Linked DNA regions of Homo sapiens: region 1 is linked to region 2. The links are contacts of gene promoters, found by promoter capture Hi-C in blood cells and fetal thymus (Javierre and others, 2016). All regions are on one chromosome and are shown on one strand. The core of a region is centred on a gene start or on the middle of the fragment in contact, and the rest is flanking DNA. Distances in the headings are between cores, read along the strand shown.

The links. The method cuts DNA at HindIII sites, captures the fragments that hold promoters and counts their contacts. A CHiCAGO score of 5 or more calls a contact.
Region 1: a contact is called between a fragment that was not itself captured here and the fragment with the promoter of SLC35B2 in region 2, in 1 of 17 cell types (naive B cells). The highest score is 5.0, in naive B cells.

What each region holds. Positions count from the first base shown.
Region 1 is chr6:43,619,803-43,625,171 of GRCh38, reverse strand. It overlaps POLH (DNA polymerase eta), which reads right to left. Exons shown (of 11, transcript NM_006502.3): 11 at 4,649-5,369. It overlaps GTPBP2 (GTP binding protein 2), which reads left to right. Exons shown (of 12, transcript NM_019096.5): 6 at 110-284; 7 at 443-662; 8 at 1,104-1,239; 9 at 1,377-1,435; 10 at 2,368-2,539; 11 at 3,005-3,169; 12 at 3,382-4,678. The coding sequence ends at 3,558. Among named protein-coding and RNA genes, the nearest start is that of GTPBP2, 6.8 kb to the left of the region's middle. The HindIII fragment of the contact is 2,773 bases long and covers 2,669-5,369 here.
Region 2 is chr6:44,254,725-44,260,288 of GRCh38, reverse strand. It overlaps SLC35B2 (solute carrier family 35 member B2), which reads left to right and starts at 2,761. Exons shown (of 4, transcript NM_178148.4): 1 at 2,761-2,889; 2 at 3,411-3,604; 3 at 3,793-3,947; 4 at 4,645-5,564. The coding sequence starts at 2,879. It overlaps NFKBIE (NFKB inhibitor epsilon), which reads left to right. Exons shown (of 6, transcript NM_004556.3): 5 at 7-246; 6 at 1,005-2,123. The coding sequence ends at 1,070. RefSeq lists a silencer at 2,543-3,082 and enhancers at 2,459-3,172, 4,602-5,317. The HindIII fragment of the contact is 10,724 bases long and covers 1-3,824 here.

The sequences.
Region 1 (5,369 bases), core at 2,806-5,305, 640 kb after region 2:
GGTCAAGATTAAGAGGCAGGGTCACCCAGGGAATGGTTTAGGTCCTGGCAACTCTGAAGGGGTTGGAAGGGCTGGCAGGAGGCACTGAGGGCCCTGGGCCCTGGGCCAGGTGGTGAATTACAGCGACTCACGGACAGCAGAAGAGATCTGTGAGAGCAGCTCCAAGATGATCACCTTCATCGACCTGGCAGGCCACCATAAGTACCTACACACCACCATCTTTGGCCTCACATCATACTGCCCCGACTGCGCCCTGCTCCTCGTCAGTGCCAACACTGGGATTGGTACGAGGCATTAGGGCAGGGACAGGGCTGAAGGGGGGTGCTGACTCTCCTACCCTGGGCCTCAAATCTTGGAGACAGACCAATGCTCCTCTTCTTCCCTCTCCTCCCTCCTGCATTCTCACTCTTCTCTCCTGCTGCTTGCTGTCCTTATGAGGCAGCTGGCACCACAAGGGAACATCTGGGGCTGGCCCTGGCCCTGAAAGTGCCCTTCTTCATCGTGGTCAGCAAGATCGACCTATGTGCCAAGACCACAGTGGAGAGGACAGTACGCCAGCTGGAGCGGGTCCTCAAGCAGCCTGGCTGCCACAAGGTCCCCATGCTGGTCACCTCTGAGGATGATGCCGTCACTGCTGCCCAGCAGTTTGCTCAGTCACCCAAGTAAGCCCACCTTACTCTAAAGCCCTGATCCACTAGGAAGGCTGCCACAGAGCCCAGGGCCCAGAAGCATGATATCCTACTTCTCCAGGGCCAGACCAGTTCTGGCTTAGTTCTGCGGGTGTTTCAGCTTGGGATTGTGGAGGGGCATCTTGCTAAAGGGCTTGACCCTCCTCCCGAGCCAACCTGGAGCACTGCTGATGCCTGGGACCATGGCGATGAAGTGCTATACCAGGCATTTGCTGTTTCCCTTGGGCTCGGATGGGCTTTTTGTGTGACATTGCTCGACTGGCTCACAAGAAGGCCCAGAGTTCCTGAGCCATTTGCAGACAGGAGAGAGGGGCCCCCAGCCAGAACAAAGCTCACCTTTCCATGTATGGGGCTCTGGCCTCTGCCTCCTGTTTGGACTGTCTTCATCTGTCCATTCCATGCCTCCCTCTACAGTGTCACCCCCATCTTCACATTGTCCAGTGTGTCTGGAGAGAGTCTGGACCTCCTCAAAGTCTTTCTGAATATTCTGCCGCCACTCACCAACAGCAAAGAGCAGGAGGAACTCATGCAGCAGCTGACGGAGTTCCAGGTAGTTGACTGCCCAAACATCTAATAGGCTGGGAAACAGGGAGGGGCTGCTTCAGACCAAACCCAGAGTCTGTTTAGAGATTTTGGACCCACCAGCCCTACTTGGCAGGCCATTGATAGCGTTTTCTTTGGCTTCAGGTGGATGAAATCTACACAGTACCAGAGGTGGGGACTGTTGTTGGAGGAACACTTTCCAGGTAAATTGTCTTGCTTGCTACCCTCCCCACTCAGCCCTCACCTATATACTCAAAGACATCCTGGCCCAAAGGAGGAGACCCTGGAATTGAACGGAACCCATTTAAAGGACATGCTTATTTGCAGATTAGGCTTTCACTATCAGAAGAGCTGGAGAACGGTAGTCTGTTGGCTTTGGAGGGAAGAAACAGTATTGCTGCCTATTGGGGAATCTCCAGGCCCCTGAGAGAGAAGTGTGGGTCTTGAGCTCCAGGAAGAAAACTAGAGTGTATTCAACTGACTTCATCTCACACAGGGAAATGAGAGACGTCACTTAAGACTCTTCTTTCTTTCTTTCTTTCTTTTTTTTGAGACAGAGTCTCGCTCTGTTGCCCAGGCTGGATTGCAGTGGAGCGATCTTGGCTCACTGCAACCTCTGCCTCCTGGGTTCCAGCAATTCTCCTGCCTCAGCCTTGAGTAGCTGGAATTACAGGCGCCTACCACCATGCCCGGCTAATTTTTGTATTTTTAGTAGAGATGGGGTCGTCACCATATTGGCCAGGCTGGTCTTGAATTCCTGACCTCAAGTGATCCACCTGCCTCAGCCTCCCCAAGTGCTAGGATTACAGGTGTGAGCCAACGCGGCTGGCCTAAGACTCTGCAAAGCAGAGAATGAAACCCAAGGGGATAACTTGCTCCTTCAGTGATTAGGTGTTCGGTGTTGTTAAACCAGCAAGTGTCTCTCTGTCCACCATCACTGCTGGCCTTTTATGAAATTAGTCTTCTGATTCTGAACTCTGGCAGTGAGCCCTGTTACATCCAAGTCAGAATTTAGGGTTCTTCCCCACTTGAGGGACTCAACCCTAGAAGGGAAGGAATGCTCTGGGTGATCCTAATAGAGAAGTAGGTATGGGGACCTTGGCTGACACTGTGCCACCTGCCCTCTGGGCTGCAGTGGGATTTGCCGTGAGGGGGACCAGCTGGTGGTGGGCCCCACGGATGATGGCTGCTTCCTGGAGCTGAGAGTATGCAGCATCCAGCGCAACCGCTCTGCCTGTCGTGTGCTGCGAGCTGGTCAGGCTGCTACACTGGCGCTTGGGGACTTTGACCGTGCACTGCTTCGCAAGGTGAGGTGGGTGCATGGGTTGGGGAGGGAACGCTAAGAGAAGTGCCTAGGAGACTGGCTACTGAATGAGCACCTATCTAAGGTGCTTCAGAGAAACTCAGAGGAAACACACTCTCTGACCCAAGAAGCTTCTGGTCTAGCTACGTAGACTATAAAAACAGCTTAACGTACTCATGAGGTACAGATAACTAAATATGAATCACTATGTTACACTGTTTTTAATGAACACTATTTTTAGTGTTCAGGACCCTAAAAATGTGAAGCGTTAGATGGGCTAGAGGACGTAGGAGGTGGGTAAAGACTCATTCCCTCTGAGAGTTTTGATTATTGTCTTTTGAGGTCTTTGTGTTTAGAGTTGTGTAGAGGAAGAGGAAATTCAGGAGCTATAAAGGGTGTGGGGTGGCTGGGGAGGGAGAGTCTGATGTTAGAGCTGCCCTTCCTGGGCCTGGGGTCTGTTCCTCCCCAGGGCATGGTGATGGTGAGCCCGGAGATGAATCCTACCATCTGCTCGGTGTTTGAGGCAGAGATAGTCTTACTGTTCCATGCCACCACCTTCCGACGAGGATTCCAGGTGACAGTACACGTGGGCAACGTACGTCAGACGGCAGTGGTGGAAAAGATCCATGCCAAGGTGAGAGGGACCTGGCCTTCCATTTCTCCAGAGGTCAGAAAAGAGGGAGGCCTGCCCCAGACTGGCAGAGAACTCCTTGATCCCACAATGGGAATAAAACCCCACTTAGGGTGGGTAGCGGCCTGATAGGCCTCTGGAGGGTGGAGAGCCACGGCTGGCAGAGAATGGGACAGAAGGCACTGGCCAGGGGAGTGACCACTTATTTGCTGCAGGACAAACTGCGGACAGGCGAGAAGGCAGTGGTACGTTTCCGCTTCCTGAAACACCCAGAGTACCTGAAGGTGGGCGCCAAACTGCTGTTCCGGGAGGGTGTCACCAAGGGCATCGGCCATGTCACTGATGTACAAGCCATTACAGCAGGAGAAGCCCAGGCCAACATGGGCTTCTGAACCCTTCAGGCAGGGACAGTTCTATTGCTGTCCCTACAATATATAAGGTGACTTCTGGCCATGCTGCCCTGCCATTGGCGGCTCTGTGTGTTAATAGGCTAGGGAGAGAGGGGTGCTGTCTGCCACTTGCTCCCTGCCAACTTTCTGGAGAGGTGCCAAACTTGGTGTGGCCAGGAAAGGGCAGTCCTGAGGGAGAAGACAGGATTCAGGGCAGTGCTCCGAAGCTGTGTGCTCACCTGGTTGGCTCATCAAACCTGGCAACCCTGTGGCCTGTCTGCCGGAGCTGACTGGATCCACTCATCAATTCTTCGTCCCCACTACTAAGACTGGGCATGTTTTGCTGGTGTGGTCTCTGCACTTCAGGAATGGTCACAACAGGGGGTAGCCCTCAAAAGCACTCCTTTTTCTATACCTCTTCTCAAGGCCATGTAAGTTGCCCATCTCTACCTGGCTGTGGACAAAAGGTTATCTGCTCTTGGCCATCTGGTGGTGGTGGCGGCCCAGAGTCTGAAGAAATGGCACAGGGACAGTGAATGGTAGTGTTGCCACCCTGTGCTGAGGCCTGAGGCCTCTTCCTCAGCTTTATCTCCCTTTCCTTCACTCAAGGGCCATTTCCCCAGTCCCTATCTCCCCCATCCCCTCCCGGCTTATAGGCCCCACAGGTGCTATTTGTTGTGCTGGCCCAGGCGTGGGGCTACCAAGCAAAGGCTTGGCATATACCAAAGGCCAGCTGCATGCCCATCAGTCTGGTCTTTTTCCTCTGCGGTCATGTTGGCTTTCATGCTGGATCAAATGTTTTACTTTCCCAGACTGGTGGCATCTGAGTTCCCCATCCTACCACTCTCACCCCACTTTCCTGCCCCACCTAAACCCTCGTTTTAGTAATTTGTAGTGACTGTTCCCTTCCCTCTGTTGCAGGGAACCAGGAGGAAAGGGAAAGATGTTGCCATATTTCCTACTCTTTAGGCATGGACTCTCCTTTCCCTTTGTTAGTGTCCTGGGTTCCCATGGACTCAGGGATTTGTTGGCTAAGGTTTCTCTGTGCATATATATATATATACATATGTATATATATTTAAATACACATATATATTGTACAGAATAAAAATGTTTTATTGAATACACTGTGCTTATGCGTTAGCTACAGGCTCAGCTTCCTTCCAGGGCTAGATACCTCTTCAGGATTAGAGACAAGTGAAACCCCAACACTGCTGAGCCCTGAATGTGGAAAGAGCCCAGCTGGTATCTCGTTCACCATTGTTTTTCTCTCCTCCACATAGGTTCAGAGTTCCAGTATTGTAACCAAGTATTGTGGCCTATTTTCCGTAGTTCAAGTGAGCAGAATACTGAGGCCTTTCACGTGAAATAGGTAGCTACCCTGTATTTGAAGAGTTGGCCACTTGCTAGTGGTCAGAATAGTAAGGAGCCCACTTCTGTGCCCTGGCAGAGATACAGTGCCAGCTACTTAAAGAAGAGTAGAATTTAGAGACAAAAGGTAATCTGGTCCCATATTTTTCAAGTTTACATAGCCTAAATTACTCTTGGAACAATGAGGGCCACTTGACCAAACCTTAGTCCCTGCTCCTGTTTCCATGTTCATACTACTTGATTTTGACATTTTATGGGTAAATAGGGGCCAAAGTCAACTGTAAATAGAAACTGCATTTTGAGGAGACCCTGGAAAAGAAATATGTGACCCAAAGTCCTATGTGGCATTCTGCCTCTAGAGTATTAAAGTGATAGCTTCCCTACCACTCAGGCTGTTTTATAAAATGTAACTGGTTTAACTTGCTACTAACAAGCCTGTAGTT
Region 2 (5,564 bases), core at 1,512-4,011:
CCCCAGGAGGGCACCAGTGGTAAGACAGCGCTGCACCTGGCTGTGGAAACCCAAGAGCGGGGCCTGGTACAGTTCCTGCTCCAGGCTGGTGCCCAGGTAGATGCCCGCATGCTGAACGGGTGCACACCCCTGCACCTGGCAGCTGGCCGGGGTCTCATGGGCATCTCATCCACTCTGTGCAAGGCGGGTGCTGACTCCCTGCTGCGGAATGTGGAGGATGAGACGCCCCAGGACCTGACTGAGGAAGTAAGTGGCATATGCTTTGCTCTCCAGGGCCTTGCACACCCATAGCAGAGAGAGGTTCTGTCATTAGCTGAAAGGGCCAGGGAGCCAGGAGTCCTGGGGTATAACCAGGACTCTGCCACTGACCAACTGTGGGAACTTGAGCCTGTTTCCTTAGTTGGTCCAAGGAGCCAAATTTGGACTCTTACAGGGACCCTGCAGTTAAAGTGAATCAGTGAAGTTGGCCAGATATGAGACCATGGTGTGGTGAGGCCTATAAGAACCCAGAGAGCCATCCCTGAGGGTCTCTGTACTCAGCTTCAGCAAAGGCTTACAAAGCAGGAGTGTAGGCCCAGTTTTTCCTGGTCTTGGACTTTCTTGAGAGGTGAAACTCAGATTTTCTGTACAGTCTTTCCTATTTTTAAATGTTCAGTGTAAAAAAGAAACCTAAATGTTCTGCGAGTACCCAGCAGCCCCCCCACCCCATCCCCCAACAACAACAAACAACTCCAGGTCCATGGGCTGGATCACCTCTAAGGGTCCCTCCTAACTCGGATATTCTGGCATTATCTTAGAAAAGGAAGGCTTGTCTAAGTCCTCAGGGCTCTGCCAAGCCCAGAGGGGCCACTATTTTGAGGATTCGTGTGAAGATTTGTTCCCTGATGGTCTTCAACTGTCATTTGGTGGGGAGGGAGTGGCCCAACAGGTTTCCCTGGGTCCCCTTTCCCAAGTCACCTTTTCCCATGTCCTCTGATCTTGCTTCTCTCCATTCTCCTTCTCAGTCCCTTGTCCTTTTGCCCTTTGATGACCTGAAGATCTCAGGGAAACTGCTGCTGTGTACCGACTGAAGCCAGGCAGGGTCTGGGATCCTCAGGGCTCCACCTCTCCATCTGGAAGCCGGAGCCATAACTGCTGCAGTTTGGGCCCAGGCTATGTGCTCTTCTGGTGCCCTAGGGACTGCTGTGGCCAGAGCCTGGGGCCAGCCAGTACAGTCCTGAGCCGAGGAGGAGGGACTGCAAGTGGAAGAGAGCCAGTCTGGAAGGAAGAGCTTTCCAGGTGGACAGGGCTTCTTGGAAGACCCCCAAAGCCCCAGGTATCCTGGGTGAAGCCTGTTTGCCTCTCTTGAAAATGGCAGGTGCTCTTGTTTTACCCATGTTGGGTCAGCCTGAAACTGCCAACCAGTAGGAAGCATGGACTCTCCTGAGTGAGAAGAGACTGAAATAGGAGCAAGCAGAACCCTGAGAGGTGTCCCATCTTATTGCTGTTGAGGACCCTGAAACACCGTTGTTTAAAGACTTCACACAGAAGGCTCTGAACTGAGCCACTGGGGAAGGGAAGTTTCAGTAACATGACACTAAAATGGCAGAGACGTTAAAAAAAGTTTTTCCCTTCTAGAGCTGTTTTGCGCGCATGCATGTCTGTGTGCATTGGGGCTTTTTAGACAGGCCTGCCCTGTGACTTTGTGGTAGAGGCAGAGAGAAGGAAATTGTCCCCTGAGCACGGTAGGGCCTTGCTGGGTGGGGTCAGAGGCCAGTAGTTCCAGGCCTTTCTCTGTGTCCAGCACAGACCCTTGTCCTTGCTGTGGAAATGATGAGGGATGGAGGGACAAGAGGAAGAATGAGAGGACACACGCCCTGGAGCCCTCACCACTGCCCTGGGGGTTGCCATCTGGAGGAGCCTGGGGATAAGGGTAACCCAGGGAGGCTGGGCACGAGGGAGCTGACTCCACGTTTTTCCCCCCGTTCCTCACCTTCGAGGGCCCTGCTAGGTCACCCCTATGCTGGCATGAAGAGCATGGGGCAATAAACCAGCACAGTCTCTGACCACTTGGAGCGTCTCATCCAGTGAGAGAGACAGCCGTTAAAAGCATAAACATCCAAATAAAGATGCCTTTCCAAGTTGCAGTGGGTGCTATGAAGGGAAAAGAATAGTGGGAAGGAAAAGGATGGAGTCGGTAGAGGGTCATACTTTGGGTGGTCCGGGAACCCTCGCCTGAGGAGTATCATCTCAACTGGGATGTAAGGATGAGTAAAGGGATGGGGGCAGAGCATTAGGGGGAAAGCCTGTGAATTAGAGGAACTGAGAGCAAGCCAGTGGGGCTTCACAGCGGGCGAGTGAGTGGGCGAGGAACGCGGGCGAGGCCATGTAGAGCCTCGAAGATCATGGGAAGTGGGACAGAATTACTACCCAGCCAACAAAGCAAGGAGACACCTTCATCCTGTCAGAAAACGGGGAAACTAACACAGAGGAGCGGCTTGGGATGCAGAGCCTCAATGTCCTGTCCACAAGATGGCAATGGTCACCATGACCTCTGGGACGCTTATGAAGGGCGATGACGAAGCACAGGGGACACGCCGGGCGGGCGCCTCTTCAGGGCTGGGGCTCCCCGCGCCCAGGGGCAGCCCAGGTCCCCGGAACCCAAGCCGCGTCTGCCTCCGGGCCGCGCGGGGGCGCTGTGGTCCGGCGGCGGCCCGGGGCGCTGCGTGGTCGCGGCAGGGGCGGAGGGGGCCGCGGGGAGGGAGGCGGGAAGAGCGCGGCACTTCCGCTGGCCGCTGGCTCGCTGGCCGCTCCTGGAGGCGGCGGCGGGAGCGCAGGGGGCGCGCGGCCCGGGGACTCGCATTCCCCGGTTCCCCCTCCACCCCACGCGGCCTGGACCATGGACGCCAGGTGGGGGCTAGGGCAGCAGCGAGCTCACGTGACCGAGCCCCCGGGCCACGTGACTGCCGCGCCTCAGCACGGGGGCCGGGTGGGGTCCCGGCTGCTCGGCCGTCGGCCAGCATATCGCTGCCCGGAGCCAGCGGGGATGGGAGCTGCGGCTTGGTTTTGTGCTCCTTGGGGAGCTTCGGGCGGAGGGGCTGGGGACCCTGACGTCCCGGATCGTGGAGGGGAGTGTGGGGGAAGGGGCGCTTCCTCTGACCTGAGCAGCCGGCTAGCGTTGGAGGGAACAGAGGAGACCTGTGTGGCCAGAGGGGCGGATCCGCCCCCGGGGAGGGAGGAAGCTCTGCCTGGCCAGCGCCGGCGCACCCCCTCCCCGAGAGAGAGAGAGAGAGAGAGGCTCTTTGTCCGGGCCGGAGCTGCAGCGGAGGGGGCGGGGAGGAGACTCCGGGCACTACTCCAGTGTGGTCCCCTCTGGAGGGCGGAGGGGATGAGGAGCTGCGCCCTAATCCTTATGTCCGCTTTCCTTACAGATGGTGGGCAGTGGTGGTGCTGGCTGCGTTCCCCTCCCTAGGGGCAGGTGGGGAGACTCCCGAAGCCCCTCCGGAGTCATGGACCCAGCTATGGTTCTTCCGATTTGTGGTGAATGCTGCTGGCTATGCCAGCTTTATGGTACCTGGCTACCTCCTGGTGCAGTACTTCAGGCGGAAGAACTACCTGGAGACCGGTGTGTGAAGAAAGGGCGGGGAAGTGAGCTAGGTCGGGAAAGAGGGTATTTGGCCAGCAGTCCAAACGGGATATGACTTGGAGAGGGCGGGAGGTCGGTAGGCCGGACAGCAGGGCAGGCTGGCTGCTCTGGGGAAGATGAAGTGCTATGGAGAAGATTTGGGGCTTGACTTTGTGTGCTTTCTTCAGGTAGGGGCCTCTGCTTTCCCCTGGTGAAAGCTTGTGTGTTTGGCAATGAGCCCAAGGCCTCTGATGAGGTTCCCCTGGCGCCCCGAACAGAGGCGGCAGAGACCACCCCGATGTGGCAGGCCCTGAAGCTGCTCTTCTGTGCCACAGGGCTCCAGGTGGGTAGGTGGGCTCAGCCTCTCTTCCTGGGTTGGATGCCGGTGGGCAGGGATTCTGTGAAGGTTTCCATTTTACCAGTCCCAGAGCTTTGCTGGCTGGTGTGTTTCGTGTCCTCCTCCCAGGGGCACACTGCACCTCCATCTTTGAGGTGTTTGGGGGAAATGCCCTTTTGTTTCTTCCTTTTCTCCTCTCCAGCACTGGTACTGAAAGTTCATGCTGTTATTTCAAGATGTCTAGTGCAGAAGAGAGGACTCCTCTTGCCCTATTCTCTGTGATTTCTACTGTGCCGTTATTATACTTCCTTCCTGCACTGGTGTCTCACATACTGTAAACCCACTGATAAAATTGTGGGGGAGCCATTCAGCCTTCCCCCAGTACTGCATGTGAGAGAGTGCTAACATGCTGACCCCATGGCATTTTGCAGTGGGTACTAGTTCCACCTTGAATATCATGTTGAACTACAGATACCCAATTCTGAGAGTTCTTGCCTCCCTGAATAGGTTTTTCACACACAGTTGATTCCCTACAAGGTGAATCCAGACTTAGGAGGGGAGAAGAAACTTCTACAGAGGAACCAAAAAGTGTATATTTTCCTTTGAATCACTTAGGCATAATCCTGAAGAGAGAGAGGTCAATTTTTGTCTACCTTTTCATTATCTTGCTTATTGTCTCCTTTGTCTCTACCTTCCCCAACAGGTGTCTTATCTGACTTGGGGTGTGCTGCAGGAAAGAGTGATGACCCGCAGCTATGGGGCCACAGCCACATCACCGGGTGAGCGCTTTACGGACTCGCAGTTCCTGGTGCTAATGAACCGAGTGCTGGCACTGATTGTGGCTGGCCTCTCCTGTGTTCTCTGCAAGCAGCCCCGGCATGGGGCACCCATGTACCGGTACTCCTTTGCCAGCCTGTCCAATGTGCTTAGCAGCTGGTGCCAATACGAAGCTCTTAAGTTCGTCAGCTTCCCCACCCAGGTGCTGGCCAAGGCCTCTAAGGTGATCCCTGTCATGCTGATGGGAAAGCTTGTGTCTCGGCGCAGCTACGAACACTGGGAGTACCTGACAGCCACCCTCATCTCCATTGGGGTCAGCATGTTTCTGCTATCCAGCGGACCAGAGCCCCGCAGCTCCCCAGCCACCACACTCTCAGGCCTCATCTTACTGGCAGGTTATATTGCTTTTGACAGCTTCACCTCAAACTGGCAGGATGCCCTGTTTGCCTATAAGATGTCATCGGTGCAGATGATGTTTGGGGTCAATTTCTTCTCCTGCCTCTTCACAGTGGGCTCACTGCTAGAACAGGGGGCCCTACTGGAGGGAACCCGCTTCATGGGGCGACACAGTGAGTTTGCTGCCCATGCCCTGCTACTCTCCATCTGCTCCGCATGTGGCCAGCTCTTCATCTTTTACACCATTGGGCAGTTTGGGGCTGCCGTCTTCACCATCATCATGACCCTCCGCCAGGCCTTTGCCATCCTTCTTTCCTGCCTTCTCTATGGCCACACTGTCACTGTGGTGGGAGGGCTGGGGGTGGCTGTGGTCTTTGCTGCCCTCCTGCTCAGAGTCTACGCGCGGGGCCGTCTAAAGCAACGGGGAAAGAAGGCTGTGCCTGTTGAGTC